Regions from separate parts of the Homo sapiens genome. Here regions 1, 2, 3, 4, 5 and 7 are each linked to region 6. Evidence: promoter capture Hi-C in 16 types of primary human blood cells and fetal thymus (Javierre and others, 2016). All regions are on one chromosome and are shown on one strand. Each heading gives the region's core, a stretch centred on a gene start or on the middle of the fragment in contact. The rest is flanking DNA. Distances are from core to core; before and after follow the strand shown. Region 1 has its middle 33 kb from the start of PAXIP1-DT. Region 2 overlaps RBM33 (RNA binding motif protein 33). Region 3 has its middle 14 kb from the start of HTR5A. Region 4 has its middle 14 kb from the start of PAXIP1-DT. Region 5 has its middle 18 kb from the start of HTR5A-AS1. Region 6 holds the start of BLACE (B cell acute lymphoblastic leukemia expressed). Region 7 overlaps RBM33 (RNA binding motif protein 33).

Region 1 (3,043 bases), core at 15-2,514, 330 kb before region 6:
TGGGAAGTGAGGAGCCCCTCTGCCCGGCCGCCACCCCGTCTGGGAGGTGTACCCAACAGCTCATTTAGAATGGGCCACGATGACGATGGCAGTTTTGTCGAATAGAAAAGGGGGAAATGTGGGGAAAAGATAGAGAAATCAGATTGTTGCTGTGTCTGTGTAGAAAGAAGTAGACATAGGAGACTCCATTTTGTTCTGTACTAAGAAAAATTCTTCTGCCTTGGGATGCTGTTGATCTATGACCTTACCCCCAACCCGGTGCTCTCTGAAACATGTGCTGTGTCCACTCAGGGTTAAATGGATTAAGGGCGGTGCAAGATGTGCTTTGTTAAACAGATGCTTGAAGGCAGCATGCTCGTTAAGAGTCATCACCACTCCCTAATCTCAAGTACCCAGGGACACAAACACTGCGGTAGGCCGCAGGGTCCTCTGCCTAGGAAAACCAGAGACCTTTGTTCACTTGTTTATCTGCTGACCTTCCCTCCACTATTGTCCTATGACCCTGCCAAATCCCCCTATGCGAGAATCACCCAAGAATGATCAATAAAAAATAAAAATAAATAAAAATAAAATAAAATAAAATAAAATGAAGACTGGGGTTTTATTATTACTCAGATCAGCCTCCCTGAAAATCTAGATGCTAGGGTTTTTCAAGGATAGTTTGGTGGGCAGGGGGCTGGGGTTAGGGGCAATGCTGATTGTTTGGGGTTGCAATCCTAGAGGTGTGGAAAATGGCCGTTCTGTGCCGGCTGCTTCTGGGTGGGGTCCACAGAGAAGTCGCTGGACCGGGTGGGACCATCTGGTCTTCAGAAATGCAAAAGCTTGAAAAGATATCTCAAAAGGCAAATCTTAGGTTCTACAGTAGTGACGTTATTTACAGGAGTAGTTGGAGAAGTTACAAATCTTGTGACCTCTGGAACAATGGCTGGTAATTGGTTAATTATGTCTACATCTTAGCAGAATTCAGGCCCCTCTCACACTGCTAACCTGGTGGCTTTTCATTAGTTTTACAAAGGTGGTTTAGTTTTGGGAATGGCTATTAGCATTTAAACCATAACTCAATTTCTCCCAAAGCTAGCTTGGCCTAAGCTCAGGAATGACCAAGGGCAGTTTGGAGGTTAAAGGCAAGATGGAGTTGGTTAGATCAGATCTTTTTCACTGTCATAATTTTCTCACTGTTACGAATTTTGCAGAGGCAGTTTAAATTTCTTCTTCTTCTTCTTCTTCTTCTTCTTCTTCTTCTTCTTCTTCTTCTTCTTCTTCTTCTTCTTCTTCTTCCTCTTCCTCTTCTTCTTCTTCCTCTTCCTCTTCTTCTTATTTTTGAGATGGAGTCTTGCTCTGTTCCCCAGGCTGGAGTGCAATGGTGGGATCTTGGCTCACTGAAACCTCCGCCTCTCGGATTCAACCGATTCTTCTGCCTCAGCCTCCTGAGTAGCTGGGATTATAGGTGCGCACTACCACGCCGGCTAATTTTTGTATTTTTTGTAGAGATGGGGTTTCACCATGTTGGCCAGGCTGGTCTCAAACTCCTGACCTCAGGTGATCTGCCCGCCTTGGGCTCCCAAAGTGCTGGGATTACAGACATAAGCCAACGCATCTGGCCTTCAATTTCTTGACACTGATAATGTTTCTTAATCAATTGTCTGCTTGTTTTCAGGTGATGGCTTTGTAATCCCTACTTTGGATTTTTTAAACCAATGTTTTATTAAAGCTTAATGAGTTCTACAAGATGTACAATAAAGATCAGCAATCTACCCTATCTGAAAGACAATCTGTAAAAAACAAAACAAAACAGAAAACAACAACAACAAAAAACCCCAAAAAGCTCCAGTAATTATTTATTTTGGCATTTACTTGTAAATACCAAAATTCATACCAGTGAGAATATTATAACAGTAAAAAACATCTGATTTAACCAACTCCATCTTGCTTTTTTTTTTTTTTTTTTTTTTGAGATGGAGTCTCGCTCTGCCACCAGGCTGGAATGCAGTGGCACGATCTTGGCTCACTGCAACCTCCGCCTCCCAGGTTCAAGTGATTCTCCTGCCTCAGCCTCCCAAGTAGCTGGGATTACAGGCGCCTTCCACCACGCCCAGCTAATTTTTGTATTTTTAGTAGAGATGGGGTTTCACTATATTGGCCATGTTGGCCAGGCTGGTCTCAAACTCCTGACTTCAGGTTATCTGCCTGCCTCAACCTCACGAAGTGCTGGAATTATGGGCGTGAGCCATCATGCCAGGCCATATATATATTTACCCAGCTCCTATTCAAGATGGAGTTGCTCTGATTCAAACGTCTCTGACACCACCTTGGCCTCTCAAAGTGCTCGGATTACAGGCATGAGCCACCACATCCAGCCTACTTGTATATTTTTAAATAGAATGCTTATGCTGTTGTTTCTCAATTTTTCACTTTTATTATTGACTCCTAACTATGGAAAATGAAGACAGATTATACCTCCCTCACTCCACCCCCCATTCACTTCTCAATATAGCTATATAATAAATATTCAGTGTTTTATTATTAAAGCTGTGTAAAGATTATTATTCATAGCTGGGTCACAATATATACTGGGATTATATTCCAATCCACTTCTCTTTTTTTTTTTTGAGATGGAGTTTCCCTCTTGTCACCCAGGCTGGAGTGCAATGGCGTGATCTTGGCTCACTGCAACCTCCGCCTCCCAGGTTCAAGTAATTCTCCTGCCTCAGCCTTCCAAGTAGCTGGGATTACAGGTGCCTGCCACCTTGCCCAGCTAATTTTTGTATATATTTGATAGAAATGGGGTTTCACCATGTTGACCAGGCCGGTCTCGAACTCCTGACCTCAGGTGATCCACTCGCCTCGGCCTTCCAAAGTGTTGGGATTAAAGGTGTGAGCCACCACACACTGCCTCCATTTCTTATATAACATTATTTTCCCTGGATTTAATTTGCTTCCCTGACTTTGTCTTTTGTGCAGCTTTCCTGTGAACATATCCAGTGCTGTATCAGGGCCATCTTTTTTGAGACCTCTCTCCTAGAGCCTGGAGCTTTTGCTCCAA
Region 2 (3,108 bases), core at 399-2,898, 340 kb after region 6:
TCGTTCATCTCACACTGCTGTGAATGATCATTTTCCTACCAAAGAGATCATTCGTGATCCCTTATTATACGTGTTGTCTCTGTGGCATAGTAATGGATCATTTACTTGGAATTTAGAAGCCCTCCGTAATTTGGCATCATCTCAGGGAAAATGCTTGTTAAATTAGACAACTGAATAAGTAGTGGTCTACTGCTAATTAGCTGTGTCGTCAGTTTGGTTAGTGATTAAAAGCAAAACCTGTGGAATCAGATGGCCTGAATTCCAGTTCCGGCTTTTCTCCTTTCCAGCTACTTGATCTTGTAAAAGGAGGTCAGTAAATAGGACCTAGTTTATAGGATTGTGGGGAGCTAGGTCAGCTGACTTTCTCTACTGACCGTATAGTAGGAACTTAAAATGTGGGGAAGATTTAGTCCACGGCAGCTGTTGCAGTTGTTGATTTCTTCCTCTCTAGTGACTGTTTGATAAAATAACCACCCTCGAATTGAGATCTCTGATCACTTTGAGTGTGTAATTTTCTTACCTTCTTTCCTGCCTTCTTCCCTGGTCTCCTGATTTTACTAAGCAGGTGGGTCTGTGCTGCTTCTGCTTTTTTCTGGGTATCTGTCCCTCACTCTGCCTTGCACCTCTCTCTTCTTCATCACCGAGTTCAGGTGTCACCCTCTCAGAGAAGCTCCCTCCCAGCCTCTCCTGGAGGCTCTTTGTGGCCCTGTCCTGTTCTCAGGCCTCAGTTCTGGAGCAGGGTAACTGGTGCACATCTCCTGCCTTGCTTACCAGAGTTCCTGGAGGGGGATGCAAGGCTGCTACAGGGAGGGCTGTGGCAGCTGCTCTTCTGTCCCTGGCACAGGGCTTTGCTCAGTGTGGGCAGTTCAATTCCCTGAACTGAATTTTTTTTTTTTTTTTCAAAATTCACACTGGGTGCTTTGGGGCTGTTTTCCCTCTTGCGTGGGGATTGACTCAATTGTGAGACTGTAGCCCTCATTGTGAAGAAGTAGAGAAGCTTCTTTATCCTGCTGTTTTGATACAAGTTGTTACTACAGACTTCTTACATTGTAACTTAAAAAATGCAATCAGTGTAAATTTGTAACACATCAGCATTCTTTTAAATGTTGATTTCGGTGAACTTTTGTTTTTTTTTTTGTGATTTGTAGACTCATTCTCCAAGGTTAATTCCTCCACAGCCCCAGGCTCCCCCTCCACCGCCACCGCCGCCTCAGCAGCAGCCGATCAGAAGCCTGTTCCAGCCGCAGCCGCTGCAGCCGCTGCTTCCGGTGCAGCACCCGCACCACCCATCCCCGCCTCAGGGAATGCACATGCCTCCCCAGCTAGAGACCCCAAGGATGATGATGACCCCGCCACCCGTGACTCCACAGCAGCCCAAGAACATACACATCAACCCGCACTTCAAAGGGACGGTGGTCACGCCTGTTCAAGGTCTGTGTTTCCTTTTACTATTGTAAAGCATAGATGGCCCCAGCTTCCAATGGTTTGACTTAGGATTTTTCCACTGACGCGTTTTTGACTTCATGAGTGTGTGAAAGCAGTATGCGTTCAGAAGAAATCATCGTTCGAATGTTGAGATTTGATCTCTCCTGGGGTAGCAACATGCATCCCAAAACTCCCTCGAAGCTGGGCAGGGGGAGCTGCGGTTCCCAGCCCCGATGATTTTGCCAACTGTGCAATGATGTGAGTGTTCTGAGCTGAAGGTAGGTGAGGCTAAGCTATGATGTTTCATTGGTTGGGCATATTAAATGCATTTTGACTAAGGGTCTTTTCCACTAACGATAGCCTTATTGGGATGTAACCCCATCCTATGTTGAGGAGCATCTGTTATGTTATAGATTACTGTGCATCTGAAGGCATTTATTAGTTTATTGCACTGAAGCCGTCTCTGCGGCAAAATAGTTTTCACATTCAAATTTGTAAGATTGAGTTTTCCTTGGCTCTTCCCCATTCATTTAGATTTTAGTTTGATGGGTCAAGTATATTTCTTTAAAAATGTGTATCTCTTATTGTATAATTGAGTGGAAAGTGCTGAGAGTACAGTCTGAATGCAAAGAATACACTAGAGACCGCTATTGGAATGCCTGAACTGTGACACTTTGTAAGTCTCCCGGTGAGGATGTTTGCAGTGGTGAGTGTCCCTCTTTGGTTCCAGGCAGCATGCCCCCCTTCAATTCCAGTGTCAGCTGGTGGAGAGGGGACACACCATCTTTTAGTTGTTGTAATCAAATAAATACAGATCTGATTATTACTGAAACATGTTCCTTAAGCTAGGAAACGGTTTTTGAGCAGTTTATACGAAGCTTTAACTTCATGTACCTGTGAACACACACATTTATTGAGCTACTACTCTATTTTTGGCATTTGAGTTATATTGACGAACAAACCAGACAAAGCTTTCTTCAACCATGATATTACTTTCTATCAGACAGTCTTATTATTGTTTATTAGCAGTAAACATAAGTATTTTATGTGGCATGTTAGAAGATGAAAATGCAGTGAGAAATTGAGCAGGATGCGGGGAAGGGATGGGTTGTATCTTAAATGGGGTGATCAGGGTGAACTTCACTGAGCAGGAAAGAGTTGAGGGATATCTGTAAGTTAGCAATGTGGCTGTTCAGGGAAGAAGATTGCAGGCAGAGTGATCAGCAAGTATAAGGGGGCTTCCTCCAGGAGAGACCCTGCCTTGTGTGTTTGAGTAGCCAAAAGGAGACCAGCGTGACTTTTGTGGAGTGATCAAAGCAGAGAAGAAATGCAGAACCTGGGTACCGTGGGGCCGTGGGGCCATCCAGCCATTCTCAGGACTTTGGCAGGGAGTGAAATGGGCAGGGATTAGAGGGGTTTGAGCAGAGGAATGACGTGACCTTGTGTATGTTTTAGAAGATTCCTCTTGCTGCCGTGTTGAGAGGAGACTGTCGGGTGGCAAGGGTGGAAGCTGGTGTCTAGCTAGGAGGTGACAGATGATCCTGGTGCAAACCAGTGTGGTAGCAGGGAGAGTGCAGAGAGCTCAGAGCTGGATGAAGTAGGAAGATGGGGCCGATGGGATTTGCTGATGGATTGGATGAGTGTGAGAGGGAGAGAGGAGGTAAGAGTGATGCCCAGGTGACC
Region 3 (3,103 bases), core at 149-2,648, 310 kb before region 6:
TCAAGGGAGAAGATGATAAGAATTAATGAGAACAAGTCTCCATGGACTACATGACCCTGTTCATTTGAATCTTTTATCTAAAAAGTTTTCATGTGTTGACACCAAATATATTAAAGTATATTTTAATTAAAAAATGTTTTTGAAGGAAGAGATATGGAAAAGAGAATTACTAAGTAAAGAACAGAATGGGTCCTAGATATAATCACAATATCTGCGCTTAGAAGAACCAGAGGCTTTCTGTCCACTGGAGCCCAGGGCCAAATGTCACTTCCTAATGTCTGTAGTCTTTCACAAACCAGCAACTTTTCCAAAAATTAAGAGAACAAATATGAAAATAGGTTATGAGTCTTGCCCCTGAGTATGTGTCATCTGAAGGGAACCATATGTGATGGTGATGAGTATGTGAAATTGTGTTATGCCAGTCGATTTAGTTTTATGTGTGTTTGAAATTTTCCAAAATAGATAAGTAAAAAAAAAAAATCAGAAATGCATTGTTAACAGAAACATCCTTGAAAAGTTTTTTTTTTTTTTTTTTTTTTTTTTTTGAGATAGGGTCCTGCTCTGTTACCCAGGCTGGAGTGCAGCGGTGTGATCTTGGCTCACCACAACCTCTGCCTCCCAGGGTCAATTGATCCTCCCACCTCTGCCTGCTGAGTAGCTGGGTCTACAGACACGCATCACCATGCCTAGTTAATTTTTGTGTGTGTATATTTTTTGTAGATACAAGGTTTCAGCACATTGCCTAGGCTAGTTTTGAACTCCTGGGCTCAAGCATTCCACTGGTCTCCGCCCAAAGTGTGAGATTACAAGTGTGAGCCACTGCACCCAGCCCATCCTTGGAATAGTTGGAAGCTGTTGTATGTATGATAGAGAGGATGAAAGAAAAACGACACATTGAATTGGGCTCCTGCTTTGAATGGAAATAATGGGGTCCCAGAGAGGAAACAACTGTCAGAGACATGGTTGACAAGATTTATGTAATAGGCTCTAGGGAAAGAGAAAATCAAAGCATTTTGATCTCAGGGTCCCAGGAGGTAGCTTGTCAATTATGGAACCTTAGGAATAGAATGTATGGGCAATCGAATAAGGCGTTAACTTTAATAATAATAATAAAAACGTTTCTGGGTCTGGTGGGCAGAAATTAGACTCAAGTTACCACAGCTGAGTTTTTGTTTTTGATGGAGTTTTGCCCTTCTCGCCCAGGCTGGAGTGCAATGGCATGATCTCGACTCAGTGCAACCTCTACCTCCCCCATTCAAGAGATTCTCCTGCCTCAGCCTCCCAAGTAGCTGGGACTACAGGAGCACGCCACCATGCCTGGCTAATTTTTGTATTTTTGATAGAGACGGGGTTTCACCATGTTGGCCAGGCTGGTCTCAAACTCCTGATCTCAGGTGATCCACCCACCTCAGCCTCCCAAAGTGCTGGGATTACAGGCGTGAGCCACTGTGCCCAGCCTACAGCTGAGTTTCAAAGCCCCTCACTGGACCTGCTCCCAGTCCTGGGGCCTCTTGATTGAAGAGAAGGCTGGGCCCCTTTGGGGAAATTCCCCACAACGTGGCCATACCTGCAAACTACACACCTCCCTTCAAATGTCTGCAGGGAGACCCCTGGCCCCTTACCAGTGTGCAAGGGAAATGCACACCCCTGTAGGACATTTTAGGCACTGGCTGTGGGGAAGTTCCCGTTCTCTGGGGTCCGGTTCTGACCTCAGCTGCGGCTCAGCAGGACAGTTTCATGCACCCCACAGCATGGCATTCCGCACTCTCTCCACCCTCCTGCCTCAGGGCTTGCTTCGCAACCATGAGGACTGAGGACTTAGCCTGCACTCAGAAGCCTCCCAGAAGCAGGGTGGTGAGGCTGACGCCTTGGGAGCAAACATCAACCAATGGGGTGTAGGAGTCAGCGGGTGAGTGTTGTGGCCTCTTGCCCTTCAGGGATAGACTTTAGGGGGAGTACACCCTGCTTGTCCACAGTGGACACCAGCTGTCCAGTGTCTTTTTTTTTTTTTTTTTTTTTTTTTTTTGAGATGGAGTCTCACTCTGTCACCCAGGCTGGAGTGCAGTGACATGATCTTGGCTCACTGCAACCTCCACCTCCCAGGTTCAAGTGATTCTCCTGCATCAGCCTCCCAAGTAGCTGAGACTATAGGCACCTGCCACCACACCTAGCTAATTTTTGTATGTTTAGTAGAGACAGGGTTTCACTATGTTGACCAGGCTGGTCTCGAACTCCTGACCTTGTGATCCACCCGCCTCGGCCTCCCAAAGTGCTGGGATTACAAGCATGAGCCACTGCACTTGGCCTTCTCCAGTGTCTTTTTATTGGCTCCTCCTTCCTCACACCCACTCTCTCTGCTTCCCTGCTCCTGCTTTCAGAGATCACCTCCCAAACAAACTACTTATACCCAATGTTCTGTCTCATAATTTGCTTGGGGCAGGGTGACTCAATTAAGAAACTGTATCTGCACTAACGTGGATCTCTGGGGCCTCCTCCTACCACCATGTCTACCAGTCAGAGTGGGGATTATGGAGGTTGGAATCTTGGCCCAAGTCCATCCTGCTACAGGCCCAGTGAGCACACGGACTCAAATCGTGGCTGCTCCCGTCCCGTTACTGACTGCTTAGAATAAAGATGCTTAATCAGCTGCAGAATATCCACATCAGCTCACTCATCTGCGAAGTAAAAATTGGTGTGGAAAAGAAGGGCCAAGTAAAATCCTTGAAACTGCTCCCTGTAGCACCCCTGTAATCCCGAGGGAATTATGGAGATTAGAATGCAAGGGGTCAGTTCCTGAGGAATCACTATTTAAATTATCTGCTTGGCTGGCATCAGAGATGAGTGTCTTGGGTAATCAATGTGGATTATGGTGATTGCAGCTGTGGTCCCAGATGCCATATTTCTGGTGGAGTAAATAAACATAAACCCTGGAACCTGGTATGCAGTAATCAAGTTGACAAAAACAAACAAACAAACAAACAGAAACAACCCACTTTGACCTTCATTTTCTTATGTCACGATTTTGTCAATTCTTCTGCCCTCCATATTATATCGTCTTGAAGGAACTTGACATCCCAAATAATACCAGATGGTCGTTATATTG
Region 4 (3,066 bases), core at 457-2,956, 350 kb before region 6:
AGAGTAATGGAATACAAAGTGTGAGATGCGACGGAGACAGGGATGTTTTGGGAGGTTGTCTTAGAGGAGGGGTCTTGAGAGACCTTCGAAGATCAACAGGAAGAGAAGGATGCCTGTTCCCTGTGGAAGAGAAGCCTGAGCAGAGGCCTGGGCTTGGGAATGAGCATGGTGGGCTGGCAGGACTAGCAGTCAGCTCCTGCCTGGAGGAAGATGTTGCGGGATGGAGCGCGGGAGACATGTACAAAGAAGCAGATTGGAGACCTTCGGGGAAAAGCTTTATATGAAGAAATGACTGTCCATATTTCTCATAAATTAGAATCCTACTATTTTCAATTCCTATCAAAAAAATTTACAGGCTGAAGTTGAGACAGTAAAAACTGGTATTCCATTTGATTCCATTTGGAAAATATCTGCCCTTATTCTGTTTATTTTATTTTATTTTTATTTTATTTTTTGTTTTATTGAGACAAGGTCTCACCCTGTCACTCAGGGTGGAGTGCAGTGCTGCAATCTTGGCTCACTGCAACCTCCGCCTCCCGGGTTCAAGCAATTCTCCTGCCTCAGTCTCCCACGTAGCTGAGAGTACAGACACGTGCCACCACGCCTGGCTAATTTTTGTATTTTTAGTAGAGACGGGGTCTCATCATGTTGGCCAGGCTGGTCTCAAACTCCTGACCTCAAGCGATCTGCCGGCCTCGGCCTCCCAAAGTGCTGGGATTACAGGCGTGAGCCACCGTGCCTGGCCTGCCCCTATTCAGTGTATAATAGCAGGCAAAATAGTGCTGCTAGTTCCACAATATCCAAAAAAGTACTAGCTAGACAATGCTGACTCAATGCTCTGGTTCCAAAATGTCCCATAGTTTCCCACCACTTGTAGACTGAAGTTCAGTCACCTTAGCCTGCCTTTCAGAGAACTCTCTAAGCTGTTGCTTTCCACCATACACCCCACCTTTGTACACCGTAGCCCGAGCACACTAGGCCCATGTCCTCCCACTCTTAGCAGACTAGACTACAGCACTTGACTCTCCAAACACATCCAGAACTTTCCCACCGCAGCCATGGCTGTGTTCCATCACCAGCAACCCTCTGCACTCATGCACCTGCACAAATCGCACCTGCTCTTCCTATGGCCAACCTTAGATGTCCCATTTTATGAAACATCTCTGATGCCTTGAGAAAGAATTTCTTTGGTCTCTTCTACTGTGATTTACATAAATATAAATGAATTATATAACTGGCGGCTCTTTGGCTTGGATCAAGGATGACTAACTCAACCACATGTGAGAGAGTTCATCTCACCCAACATAATGTCTGGTGTGGTGCTGCTGTGAACCATTTTCAGGGTAAGGAGTACAAACAAGGCTGGAGGGAGCCTCAAATGTGAGAGCTTGCCTTCATCCCAATACTTATATTTAAAGTATCAAAAAGACTGTATTCTAAAATACTTTGCCATTGCATCACCACCACCACCCCACTCCCAACCCCTCCAAGACTAAAACAAGTTTTTGTTTTTAAGACAGGGTCTTGCTCTGTTGCCCAGGCTGAAAGTGCAGTGGCGCCATCACAGCTCACTGCAGCCTCGACTTCACAGCACCCAAGGGACCTTCCCACCTCAGTCTCCCAAGTAGATGGGACCACAGGTACACACCACTGGCTACTTTTTACATTTTGTGTAGAAATGGGGTCTCAGACCAGCTACGGTGGCTCATGCCTGTAATCCCAGCACTCTGGGAGGCTGAAGCTGGTGGATCACTTGAGGTCAGGAGTTTGAGACCAGCTTGGCCAACATAGTGAAACCCCGTCTCTACTAAAAATACAAAAATTAGTCAGGCACAGTGGCAGGCGCCTGTAATCCCAGCTACTCCAGGAGGCTGAGGCAGGAGAATCGCTTGAACCCGGGAGGTGAAGGTTGCAGTGGGCCGTGGTGGTGCCACTGCACTCCAGTCTGGGTGACAGAGCAAGACTCTGTCTCAAAACAAAACAAAACAAAACAAACAAAAAAACAAAAAAACTAAAAGGGAAATGGGGTCCACTGGTTGCCCAAGTTGGTCTCGAACTCCTGAGCTCAAGCCATTCTCCTGCCTTGGCCTCCCAAAGTGCTAGGATATCAGGCGTAAGCCACTGCACCTGGCCTAAAACAAGTTTTATTTTCCCTTAACACATATTCTCTTCCATATTTAGTATGAGGCCTGATGTCAAATGGATGATGAGTAAATATTTAAGGAGTGGATGGATGCATTTTGAATGAATTAACATCACTGCCAGGGATTTTTCACCTTTTAGGGCCTCTTTAAAGATAATCATCAGAATACAAATTTAAAACTTATTCTAATAAGGTTTCCTTGTTCTATTTCATTATACTTTACAGCTGGGGAAACACGTTTGGGAAGGTTAGATCAGGGGTCAGCAAACATTTTTCTGTAAAGGCCCAGATAGAAAATATTTTAGGCATTGTGGTTTATACAATCTCTCTTGTGACTTCTCAACTCTGCTATTGCAGTGTGAAAGCAGCCACAGACACTCTGTGTAAAAATGAGCAAGACTGCGTTCCAATAAAACTTTATGTACAAAACCAGGTAGCAGGCCAGAGTTAGCCTTTGGGCCTTGGTTTGCTGACCCTGTGTTAGGTTTTCCAAGGTCACACACTAGCAAGTGGAAGAAACAAAGAAAGACTAAAACCCAACAGGTGTTCACTAACTAATGAGCCTCTTGACCCCCGTACAGCACTCTCCCTGCTTCACTGTGATAACTCTGCGGTCTCAGGAGGTCTGTCTGAATGCTTGACCATCAGGCAAACAAGGGAATTAGGGCTAATTAATTAGTCAAGACTTTGAAATCCACTGAGAAATGGGGCCTCATATTAAGTGCAAACTATCATCCTAAGTAATATATTTGTGACACTTTCATTAAATTTTCTCTCAAATCTTGAAAAATAAGTATCTCCTAGCTGCCAAGATTTTCATCTTAGCGTAATTATGAAGCCTCCCCAAATAATCATTTTCCAGTTGGCGATACTCAGTGGGGCACAATGCCAGCTGTGGAGACTGGATGACGCTGTTTAATTTG
Region 5 (3,356 bases), core at 537-3,036, 280 kb before region 6:
AGATGATGGCAGGGACTTAAAACAACCCCTTCCTCCCCTCTGGCATCTCCACCAAGTACAGCCCACATAGAGCTGCAAAAGCACCAGCTTTCGCAGGACACCTTTGGAACAGTGTCCTTTTCCTTTATGATATTTGGTGACTGGAGGTCAACCTCGTGTGGCACCAGTTCCCAGACCAAATCTGCCCCAGAGATCAGGAACAACCTAACCGTGATCTACACTGCACCAATCCCAGGTGACCTAACAAGCAATCCCCGGTGGATTAGCGATGGCAGATGGGAAGTAGGGGAGATGACGACTCTGCCCACTGGTGCAAATAAGGGGAGGGTCTGAGATTAATGTACAGTCGCAGGACGCATAACCATGAGGATGTGCTGAGAAATGCATCATTAGGCAATTTCGACATTATGCAAACGTCGCAGAGTGCACTTACACACATCTAGAGGGGACAGCCCGCTATACATGTGAGGCTGTTCGGTGTAGCCTCGTGGTCCTAGGCTGCACACCTGTGAAGGCTGTTACTGTACTGAATGCTGTAGGCAGCTGTAACACGATGGTAATGGGTTTGTGTATCTAAACATATCTAAATGTAGAAAAGGTACAGTAAAAAATGATTGAAAATGGTGCACCTGTACAGGGTACTTGCCATGAATGGAGCTTGCTGCAGTGGAAGTAGCTCCAGGTGAATCAGCGAGGGAGTGAGTGGAGAGTGAATGTGAGGACCTAGGACACCTAGGACATTCCTGTACACTACCGCAGACTTTGTAAACAATGTTCACTAAGGCTACACTCAACTTCTTCTTTCTTTTTTTTTTTTTGAGACAGAGTCTCGCTCTGTTGCCCAGGCTGGAGTGCAATGGCGTGACCTCGGCTCACTGCAACCTCCACCACCTCCCAGGTTCAAGCAATTCTCCCACCTCAGCCTGCCGAGTAGCTGAGACTACAGGCGCCCGCCACCATGTCCGGATTTTTTTTTGTATTTTTAGTAGACACAGGGTTTCACCGTGTTAGCCAGGATGGTCTCGATCTCCTGACCTTGTGATCCGCCCACCTCGGCCTCTCTAAGTGCTGGGATTACAGGCATGAGCCACCGTGCCCTGCTGAAGGGAAGCAATTTTTAAATGACCAATGTTAATTACCCTAGTAATTAGCTAGGAATGGGTGGGAGCTGGAATTAACTAGAATTAACATTCCTAGTAATTAACTAGGAACGGGTGGGAGCTGGAATTAACTACAATTAACATTCCCAGTAATTAACTAGGAATGGGTGGGAGCTAGAATTTGGGACAGAATTTGACATTTGGCAAGCCCCATAGTTGTGAAGATTTAAATAAAAAAACCTCTCTTGGTTCTTGTGCTTAGAACCTTAAATGGAAATACTTCAAATTAAAATAGTAAGAATTTTGATAACAAACAGATGTCTTCCTGGGGGTCATCTTGGGTATTTAGAATGACATCTACATGTGGTAAGAATAGGCTGAGGGGGAATGGGGCTTTGCATGAGAAAAAAAGGATGAGGAGGGGATATTGAGCTGAGGAGAAACACGGCAGCAAATTGAAGTGAGTCTGTAACTTGCCAGCCATTGAGTGCTTCATCTTGGAAGCGAGTCTTCCAGCCTCAGTCAAACCTTCAGATGACTGCAGCCCCAGCTGGTGTCTTGACTACACTTGACTACATGGGAGATCCCGAGTCAGAACCCAACTAAGCCACTCCCAAATTTCTAAATCACAGAAACTATCAGATAACGAAGGATTATTGCTGTTTTAATGTAAAACAAACTAAATATGAAACTCGAATCTAATACTAAAAAGAGAGGATAAATTCAATACAAAAGAAAGGATATAGAATTCCATTTTGCTATATTCTGTTTCATGCAAACTAGATATGGATTTATATAAACTGGGTTAATTTAATTTAATACACAAATATAATTCATCAAATTATAAGGCATCACTTTAGTACTAAGGTAGCAGATTTAAAATACACTTCTGTTTATAAAAACTCAATTCATGTATCTGGAGAGCACTTGGAACTCTATTTGCTGAGAGTTTTCGCCAACATGTGTGATGGGTGGGAGGGCAAGGCAGGAGGAACTCAGCCCTTGGCTGCCTACCCTGGATCAGGCTGCTGCCTGGAGCACAGACACACAAAGCATTAGTGGCCACATGGAAACAGACTGCTTCTCTCATTCCTTCCTGCTCCACTCTTTGGTGCCACTCCTGCTCCCCTATTTGGTGCCACTAACCTGGGTGTCTCTCCCTGGTTAAAAGGAAGAGAGTGTGTGTGTGTGTATACATGCACACACACACACATACACATATACACATATGTATGTATGCATACAGAAGATTTCCATTAATCAAACATTCAGTAGTAATAACAAAGCTGCAAACAAATCAGCCAGGGGTCATCATCAAAATGAGGCCTAAGTGGCACAGCCCCGCATGTCTCAGCCTATGGCATAACAGGAGCTTTCCTGACTCAGGAGTGGAAGGTACAACTCATTACAAGGCCTTTACACATCACCTAATGTGAAGGGCCCTGCCCACAGCTGCTGAGACCCCGGAAGCCACCTAATTTGAGGCTTCCTCCCCCACAACTCACTGAGTGAGTCATATTTTGTGCACAGAGCTATCACCTCAGGCTGTATCCCAAAGGTTTCTGTTAGCAGGAAGGAAGAATATCGAGCCCTCTGTGTGCAGGTGAACAAACTTTGAGACTGTGGCATTTACAGCAACAGCTGCTCCAGTGATCCCATCTCCACCTTCAGCTCAGTTGGAAACTGAACTTCGGGGGTTAGAAGGGAAGAGAGTCGGTGCCCCATTGGTTTGTTACCTTCCCAACATGCGACAAGTCAGTTTCCACGTAGATGAAAGAGGAGGTGGTCTGATTTACAAAGACAGATGAGCCCCCAGCTTCCTGTTTGGCCACCGACGGGCTCACTGTCACCTCACCGAGGGTGCCTCTGTCCTGTCCCAGCACCGTTAAGGTGCAATGGGTCCTTGGTCTAGGAGTGAAGACGATGGGATGAAGATGGGGGGATGGAGTTAAATAAAAGGGCCTGACTCTCACTTCGCTTTCTTCATCCTTCCTGCTCCTTAAGATAGTTGGATGTTTTTCCCACTTGGTAAAGTTATTCCTACAATTGGCCTACAGGAAAAGGAAGACAGGCAAAACAAACAAAGCGTAAAAAGACTCCCCTGGCCTGGCAGCAATGATAACCCACACCATTGACACCAGTATGTTCCCTTATTATTTTACAACAAAAGGGATTGCCTTTTGATATAACCAAATATGGCATTTTAGAATCTTTTTGACAGGGTTCAGTTTATCTTGTTGAGCTTAATTTTTTTTT
Region 6 (3,051 bases), core at 125-2,624:
CCATTGTCATCATGGCCCATCCCCAATGAGCCGCTGGGCACACCTCCCAGACGGGGTCGTGGCCGGGCAGAGGGGCTCCTCACTTCCCAGTAGGGGCGGCCGGGCAGAAGCGCCCCTCACCTCCCGGACGGGGCGGCTGGCCGGGCGGGGGGCTGACCCCCGCCACCTCCCTCCCGGACGGGGCGGCTGGCCGGGCAGAGGGGCTCCTCACTTCCCAGTAGGGGCGGCCGGGCAGAGGCGCCCCTCACCTCCCGGACGGGGCGGCTGGCCGGGCGGGGGGCTGACCCCCCCACCTCCCTCCCGGACGGGGCGGCTGGCCGGGCAGAGGGGCTCCTCACTTCCCAGTAGGGGCGGCCGGGCAGAGGCGCCCCTCACCTCCCGGACGGGGCGGCTGGCCGGGCGGGGGGCTGACCCCCCCACCTCCCTCCCGGACGGGGCGGCTGGCCGGGCAGAGGGGCTCCTCACTTCCCAGTAGGGGCGGCCGGGCAGAGGCGCCCCTCACCTCCCGGACGGGGCGGCTGGCCGGGCGGGGGGCTGATCCCCCCACCTCCCTCCCGGACGGGGCGGCTGGCCGGGCGGGGGGCTGACCCCCCACCTCCCTCCCGGACGGGGCGGCTGGCCGGGCAGAGGGGCTCCTCACTTCCCAGTAGGGGCGGCCGGGCAGAGGCGCCCCTCACCTCCCGGACGGGGTGGCTGGCCGGGCGGGGGGCTGATCCCCCCACCTCCCTCCCGGACGGGGCGGCTGGCCGGGCGGGGGGCTGACCCCCCACCTCCCTCCCGGACGAGGCGGCTGGCCGGGCAGAGGGGCTCCTCACTTCCCAGTAGGGGCAGCCGGGCAGAGGCGCCCCTCACCTCCCGGACGGGGCGGCTGGCCAGGCGGGGGGCTGATCCCCCCACCTCCCTCCCGGACGGGGCGGCTGGCCGGGCGGGGGGCTGACCCCCCACCTCCCTCCCGGACGGGGCGGCTGGCCGGGCAGAGGAGTCCTCACTTCCCAGTAGGGGCGGCCGGGTAGAGGCGCCCCTCACCTCCCGGACGGGGCGGCTGGCCAGGCGGGGGGCTGATCCCCCCACCTCCCTCCCGGACGGGGCGGCTGGCCGGGCAGGGGGCTGACCCCCCTCCCCCCTCCCGGACTGGGTGGCTGGCCGGGCGGGGGGCTGACCCCCCCACCTCCCTCCTGGACGGGGCGACTGGCCGGGCAGAGGGGCTCCTCACTTCCCAGTAGGGGCGGCCGGGCAGAGGAGCCCCTCACCTCCCGGACGGGGCGGCTGGCCGGGCGGGGGGCTGACCCCCCCCACCTCCCCCCCGGACGGGGTGGCTGCCGGGCGGAGACGCTCCTCACTTCCCAGACGGGGTGGCTGCTGGACGGAGGGGCTCCTCACTTCTCAGACGGGGTGGTTGCCAGGCAGAGGTGCTCCCCACCTCTCAGACGATGGGCGGCCAGGCAGAGACGCTCCTCACTTTCCAGACGGGGTGGCGGCCGGGCAGAGGCTGCAATCTCGGCTCTTTGGGAGGCCAAGGCAGGCGGCTGGGAGGTGTAGGTTGTAGTGAGCCGAGATCACGCCGCTGCACTCCAGCCTGGGCACCATTGAGCACTGAGTGAACGAGACTCCGTCTGCAATCCCAGCACCTCGGAAGGCCGAGGCTGGCGGATCACTCGCGGTTAGGAGCTGGAGACCAGCCCGGCCAACACAGCGAAACCCCGTCTCCACCAAAAAAAAACGAAAACCAGTCAGGCGTGGCGGCGCGTGCCTGCAATCACAGGCACTCGGCAGGCTGAGGCAGGAGAATCAGGCAGGGAGGTTGCAGTGAGCCGAGATCGCAGCAGTACAGTCCAGCTTCGGCTCGGCATCAGAGGGAGACCGTGGAAGGAGACCGTGGGGAGAGGTAGAGGTAGAGGTAGAGGTAGAGGTTAGAGGTTAGAGGTTAGAGGTTAGAGGTAGAGGTAGAGGTAGAGGTAGAGGTAGAGGTAGAGGTAGAGGTAGACGTAGAGGTATCCTTTAATCTTTCTAGGACAGGTACAGTGGCTCATGCCTGTAATCCCAGCACTTTGGGAGGCCGAGGTGGGAGGATCACTGGAGGCAGGCGGATCACTGGAGCCAAGGAGTTCAAGACCAACCAGGGCAACATAGTGAGACCTTGTCTCTACAAGAAGTTTAAAAAATTAGCCAAGCATGGCGGCGCATGCCTGTAGTCCCAGCTACTTGGGAGGATGAAGCTAGAGGATTGCTTGAGCCCAGAAGGCAGAGGCTGCAGTGAGCAGTGATCACACCACTGCACTCCAGCCTGGGCGACAGAGCAAGCTCCTATCTCAAAAAAAAAAAAAAAAACAGATAATCTTTCTAGGACTTGATTTCCCAGGCTCCATAATGGCAATCTGCGCAGGCAGCTTCTGGCTCTGAGTCTTCCTGTTTCTGTGGTGCCACTGCCAGCACAGGGAGGTCATTCTGTATCATGTCACTTGCTTGGTGTTTTACACCCATGGATGATGAAACAGCAACTGCAGCCTGGAGTGCTGGGAGGCAGAGAGAGTCTCGCTTCCCAGGCCATCTGGCTTACTGTGAAGGCCAGAAGCAGCACAGCCTCTCTTGGTCACCAGGGATCAGGACTCAGGTGGAGAGGGTGGGGCAGGGGCTGGCAGTGGAGACAGGTCCACACTGGGAACCAGCTGTGCCAGGCAGTGTGGCCCTGAAGCCCCTAAGGTGTGTCAAGAGGGGTCTTTCAGGAAATGGTTAGAGAGTGCAGGTGTTGTGTTTCTCTCTGACATGTAAACATATGTCTTTCTAGACAGGCAGGTCTCCCTATACCTGCCTTACGTGGGAAGCACGTCCGCAGGAGAGGTGCCACCCAGTGCCTCCAGCACTGATCAGGCCTTTCTCAGGTGTTGGGCAGGGAGAGGCAGAGCCCAAGAGAAGCCTCAGCAGAACACTAACAGTGGAAAGGAGGCAGTGAGGTGGAAGCAGCTTCTTTGGTACATGCAGAAAGTTCTAGAAAGGCCTTTTGGCTTAGAATCCTAGCTCTATTCACGTGAAGCAGCACTTCGGCATGAGGTG
Region 7 (2,970 bases), core at 140-2,639, 370 kb after region 6:
AGAAAGACAGTGACTGTTAGGAGACACGTTACTTGACATTTTTGAGGAAAACTTGGAACCAGGTCTATATTTCTAAAAATTACATACCATTTTTCTGTCCTTCACCCTGTTTCTCTGTTGTTGTTGTTGTTCTTTAGGGCCCTCCAGAATTTCCACAGCATACACCTGGACCTGTTCCCAACAGTTTCAGCCAGCCCCCACGACTCCCTCTCCAGGACCAGTGGAGAGCCCCACCCCCGCCTCAGGATCGAGACCCTTTCTTCTTAGGAGGTACAGAAAGAGTGAGTGGTGTGGAGTAACAACAGAAGCTGCATTGGGTGATGTGCCCAAACACATTTATTTTGTAAACTGAATTGAACTCCCAGTTGGAGATGTTAGGAATGCCAGGTTTTTGTACCATAGCAGTTCTGCCTGTCATTTCAGGTGCTAAAATTGGACATTGTTGGTATCTGAAATCGGAACATCTCATATAAAAGGGAATTTATGTATAGAAAATGACAAATGAAGCAATCTAGAAATAAGAGGCAAAATCTGGAATTGTTTCCAACATTCATAACCTGTCAACACTTGTGACTTCTGTCCACAGTAGGATAGTGCTTCAGACTGCTTTTCTGAGAAGCACATGGTCTTTTTAACCTGAAGTTAATGATGTTGTGTTACCTTTCAGTTTCAGGTGAACCAAGATTCCCGAGCCATCTTTTTCTGGAACAGCGAAGTCCCCCTCCACCACCACCGCCTCCTACCCTTCTTAACAGTAGCCATCCTGTTCCTACTCAGAGTCCTCTACCATTCACTCAGCCAGGACCAGCATTTAATCAGCAAGGACAGCAGCCAGTGTTCCCAAGAGAGCGGCCCGTACGACCAGCCTTGCAGCCTCCAGGTCCGGTGGGGATTCTGCACTTTAGCCAGCCTGGGTCGGCAACCACACGGCCCTTCATTCCTCCTAGACAGCCGTTCCTGCCAGGCCCAGGACAGCCGTTTCTGCCCACACACACACAGCCCAACCTGCAGGTAATGCATCCTGAGTGAACCTCCAGGGAAAAAATGTGTAGCTTCAAGGCTTTGTGTTCCATAAAGTTTCAGATTTTTATTTGAGCCTACTAATTTGTGGTTATTTAAAGAATAGAGTATTAGTCTCAAATGTACTGTTTGTTAAAGACAACTTTTTTCAACAATGTTACTTATCTCAATACAAGAAAAAAATGGGAAAATGTCATTTTTTGGGAATTGAAAAATGCTACTTATTATAATTGTTTAAAGGGTATACTACTAATAAAATTAGGACATGTTTTGATAATACATTTGCTCATCTGTATAAAATTTCATGAGAGGTTTACCAGTGGAAATACTTTGTCAAATTATATTCCTGCAGTAGACAGTTTTGAAAAGAGTCTTTGCATGGAGGGAAGAAGATGTTGCTGTTCACTGGTTATTTGAAGGCCTTGAGTGCCCTCTGCCGACCGGCTTCTGCTTCATGGGTTTTCACTGGTTATTTGAAGGCCTTGAGTGCCCTCTGCCCATCGGCTTCTGCTTCATGGGTTGACATGCGTCTGTAACATCTTTCTTACCAAGTGTATATTTCTTCTTGTATTGTAGGGTTACTATTAAAATACATAGCGATGGTAAACTTGAATCAACTATTTAAAAATACGTGGAATACGTATCTAAGCCAAAAACGGAAAATGAATATTATCTAGGGTGTTAAAGGAAGATAAAATGTTTTTAAGAATTTTTCTTTTTATTAAAAAAATGCAATTAATACATCCCCATTGCAGAAATTTTCAAGTATATATAAGAAAGGAAATTAAATACTCTCGTTACCTAGAAACAATTCAGGAGCTTTTTTTTTTGTCTTTTTTTAAATGCACATCTTCTCGCCACCTGCTTTTTCCCTCCAGTGTCACATATCATTTGATCTTTTCATGTCAGCGAGTTGGTTTTGATGCCATCGTTTGAGAGTGCTGTATGCGGTTCCCTTTCATGCTGTCTGTGTGGTTGCATGTGTGTATACTGGTTTCAGTACTTTAGTATCATAGTGCTACAGGGAACATGCTTTAGAGTTATGAGTTTGTCTGCATACCTAGTTTTCCTTAGGACAATTCAATCCTAGAATTACTGGATTAAATATAAAATTTAAGGTAATAGCTTCTGGCTTATTACTGCATTTTAGATAGTATTACCTTCATCAGCAAGTCTAAAATGAAGTTTTGGTATCGCTGAAAGTTCCTTTCTTGTGTTGAGGTTTTTTAGGAAATGATTGAAGTGATTATGCCCGGTGTAACCATTTATGAACTGTTGTTTCTCTTTCTTTGGAAATGGAAGGGGCCGTTGCATCCTCCATTGCCCCCTCCGCATCAGCCTCAGCCTCAGCAACCTCAGCAACAGCCCCCGCCACAGCACCAGCCTCCGCACCAGCCCCCGCACCAGCCCCCGCCCCAGCACCAGCCCCCACCCCAGCACCCACCACAGCACCCGCCGCAGCACCAGCACCACCACCACCACCACCACCTGTCCGTCCCGCCCCCTCCTTTGATGCCGATGTCTCAGCCACAGTTCCGGCCTCACGTACAGACCGCTCAGCCTCAGGCCAGCAGCAGCCGGATGCAGTGCCCCCAGCGCCAGGGGCTCCGGCATGTAAGTGTCAAGGGGTGTCTTCCCTGTGTCTTCCTGGGAGGCCTTTTAACTTACAGGACTTGAGGGGCATAATATGTAGGTTAGAATATTTTCCAGTTCTGATTTCTGTTTATAAAATGTGTAGTACATAGTTCTGAAGTGAATCCATGTTTTAAAAAACACTCAGGTGATTTGTTTTCTTGACTACAAGAATTGATAAGATACTCCTTTTGTGTCTCAAAGACTGTGTTAATATTTACTTAAGCATCTTTCTTGTATCTAGATATTTCTATAGCAATAGACAGGAATTAATAGACACGTAACTTTAGAAAATACTTTTGGGTGGTAGTCACTTTC

The links. Contacts are between HindIII fragments. The CHiCAGO score rates a contact against its expected background, and 5 or more counts as called.
Region 1: a fragment that was not itself captured here is called in contact with the fragment with the promoter of BLACE in region 6 in 2 of 17 cell types (neutrophils and activated CD4 T cells); the score reaches 5.9 in neutrophils.
Region 2: a fragment that was not itself captured here is called in contact with the fragment with the promoter of BLACE in region 6 in 2 of 17 cell types (neutrophils and M0 macrophages); the score reaches 5.5 in neutrophils.
Region 3: a fragment that was not itself captured here is called in contact with the fragment with the promoter of BLACE in region 6 in 1 of 17 cell types (neutrophils); the score reaches 5.5 in neutrophils.
Region 4: a fragment that was not itself captured here is called in contact with the fragment with the promoter of BLACE in region 6 in 8 of 17 cell types (total B cells, activated CD4 T cells, megakaryocytes and 5 more); the score reaches 8.1 in total B cells.
Region 5: a fragment that was not itself captured here is called in contact with the fragment with the promoter of BLACE in region 6 in 6 of 17 cell types (naive CD4 T cells, total CD8 T cells, activated CD4 T cells and 3 more); the score reaches 6.9 in naive CD4 T cells.
Region 7: a contact is called between a fragment that was not itself captured here and the fragment with the promoter of BLACE in region 6, in 6 of 17 cell types (fetal thymus, M0 macrophages, total B cells and 3 more). The highest score is 8.1, in fetal thymus.

What each region holds. Positions count from the first base shown.
Region 1 is chr7:155,034,750-155,037,792 of GRCh38, forward strand. No RefSeq gene overlaps it. Among named protein-coding and RNA genes, the nearest start is that of PAXIP1-DT, 33 kb to the left of the region's middle. The HindIII fragment of the contact is 890 bases long and covers 820-1,709 here.
Region 2 is chr7:155,710,025-155,713,132 of GRCh38, forward strand. RBM33 (RNA binding motif protein 33) reads left to right here. Exons shown (of 18, transcript NM_053043.3): 8 at 1,179-1,431. Among named protein-coding and RNA genes, the nearest start is that of RBM33, 67 kb to the left of the region's middle. The HindIII fragment of the contact is 1,306 bases long and covers 996-2,301 here.
Region 3 is chr7:155,054,603-155,057,705 of GRCh38, forward strand. No RefSeq gene overlaps it. Among named protein-coding and RNA genes, the nearest start is that of HTR5A, 14 kb to the right of the region's middle. The HindIII fragment of the contact is 8,811 bases long and covers 1-3,103 here.
Region 4 is chr7:155,015,459-155,018,524 of GRCh38, forward strand. No RefSeq gene overlaps it. Among named protein-coding and RNA genes, the nearest start is that of PAXIP1-DT, 14 kb to the left of the region's middle. The HindIII fragment of the contact is 2,868 bases long and covers 273-3,066 here.
Region 5 is chr7:155,088,276-155,091,631 of GRCh38, forward strand. No RefSeq gene overlaps it. Among named protein-coding and RNA genes, the nearest start is that of HTR5A-AS1, 18 kb to the left of the region's middle. The HindIII fragment of the contact is 5,653 bases long and covers 1-3,356 here.
Region 6 is chr7:155,366,559-155,369,609 of GRCh38, forward strand. It overlaps BLACE (B cell acute lymphoblastic leukemia expressed), which reads right to left and starts at 1,375. Exons shown (of 6, transcript NR_103545.1): 1 at 1,251-1,375. The region is part of intron 2 of LOC105375593 (a long non-coding RNA gene); the gene reads left to right. The HindIII fragment of the contact is 7,901 bases long and covers 1-3,051 here.
Region 7 is chr7:155,737,393-155,740,362 of GRCh38, forward strand. It overlaps RBM33 (RNA binding motif protein 33), which reads left to right. Exons shown (of 18, transcript NM_053043.3): 10 at 138-270; 11 at 668-1,011; 12 at 2,323-2,634. Among named protein-coding and RNA genes, the nearest start is that of SHH, 74 kb to the right of the region's middle. The HindIII fragment of the contact is 3,853 bases long and covers 1-2,970 here.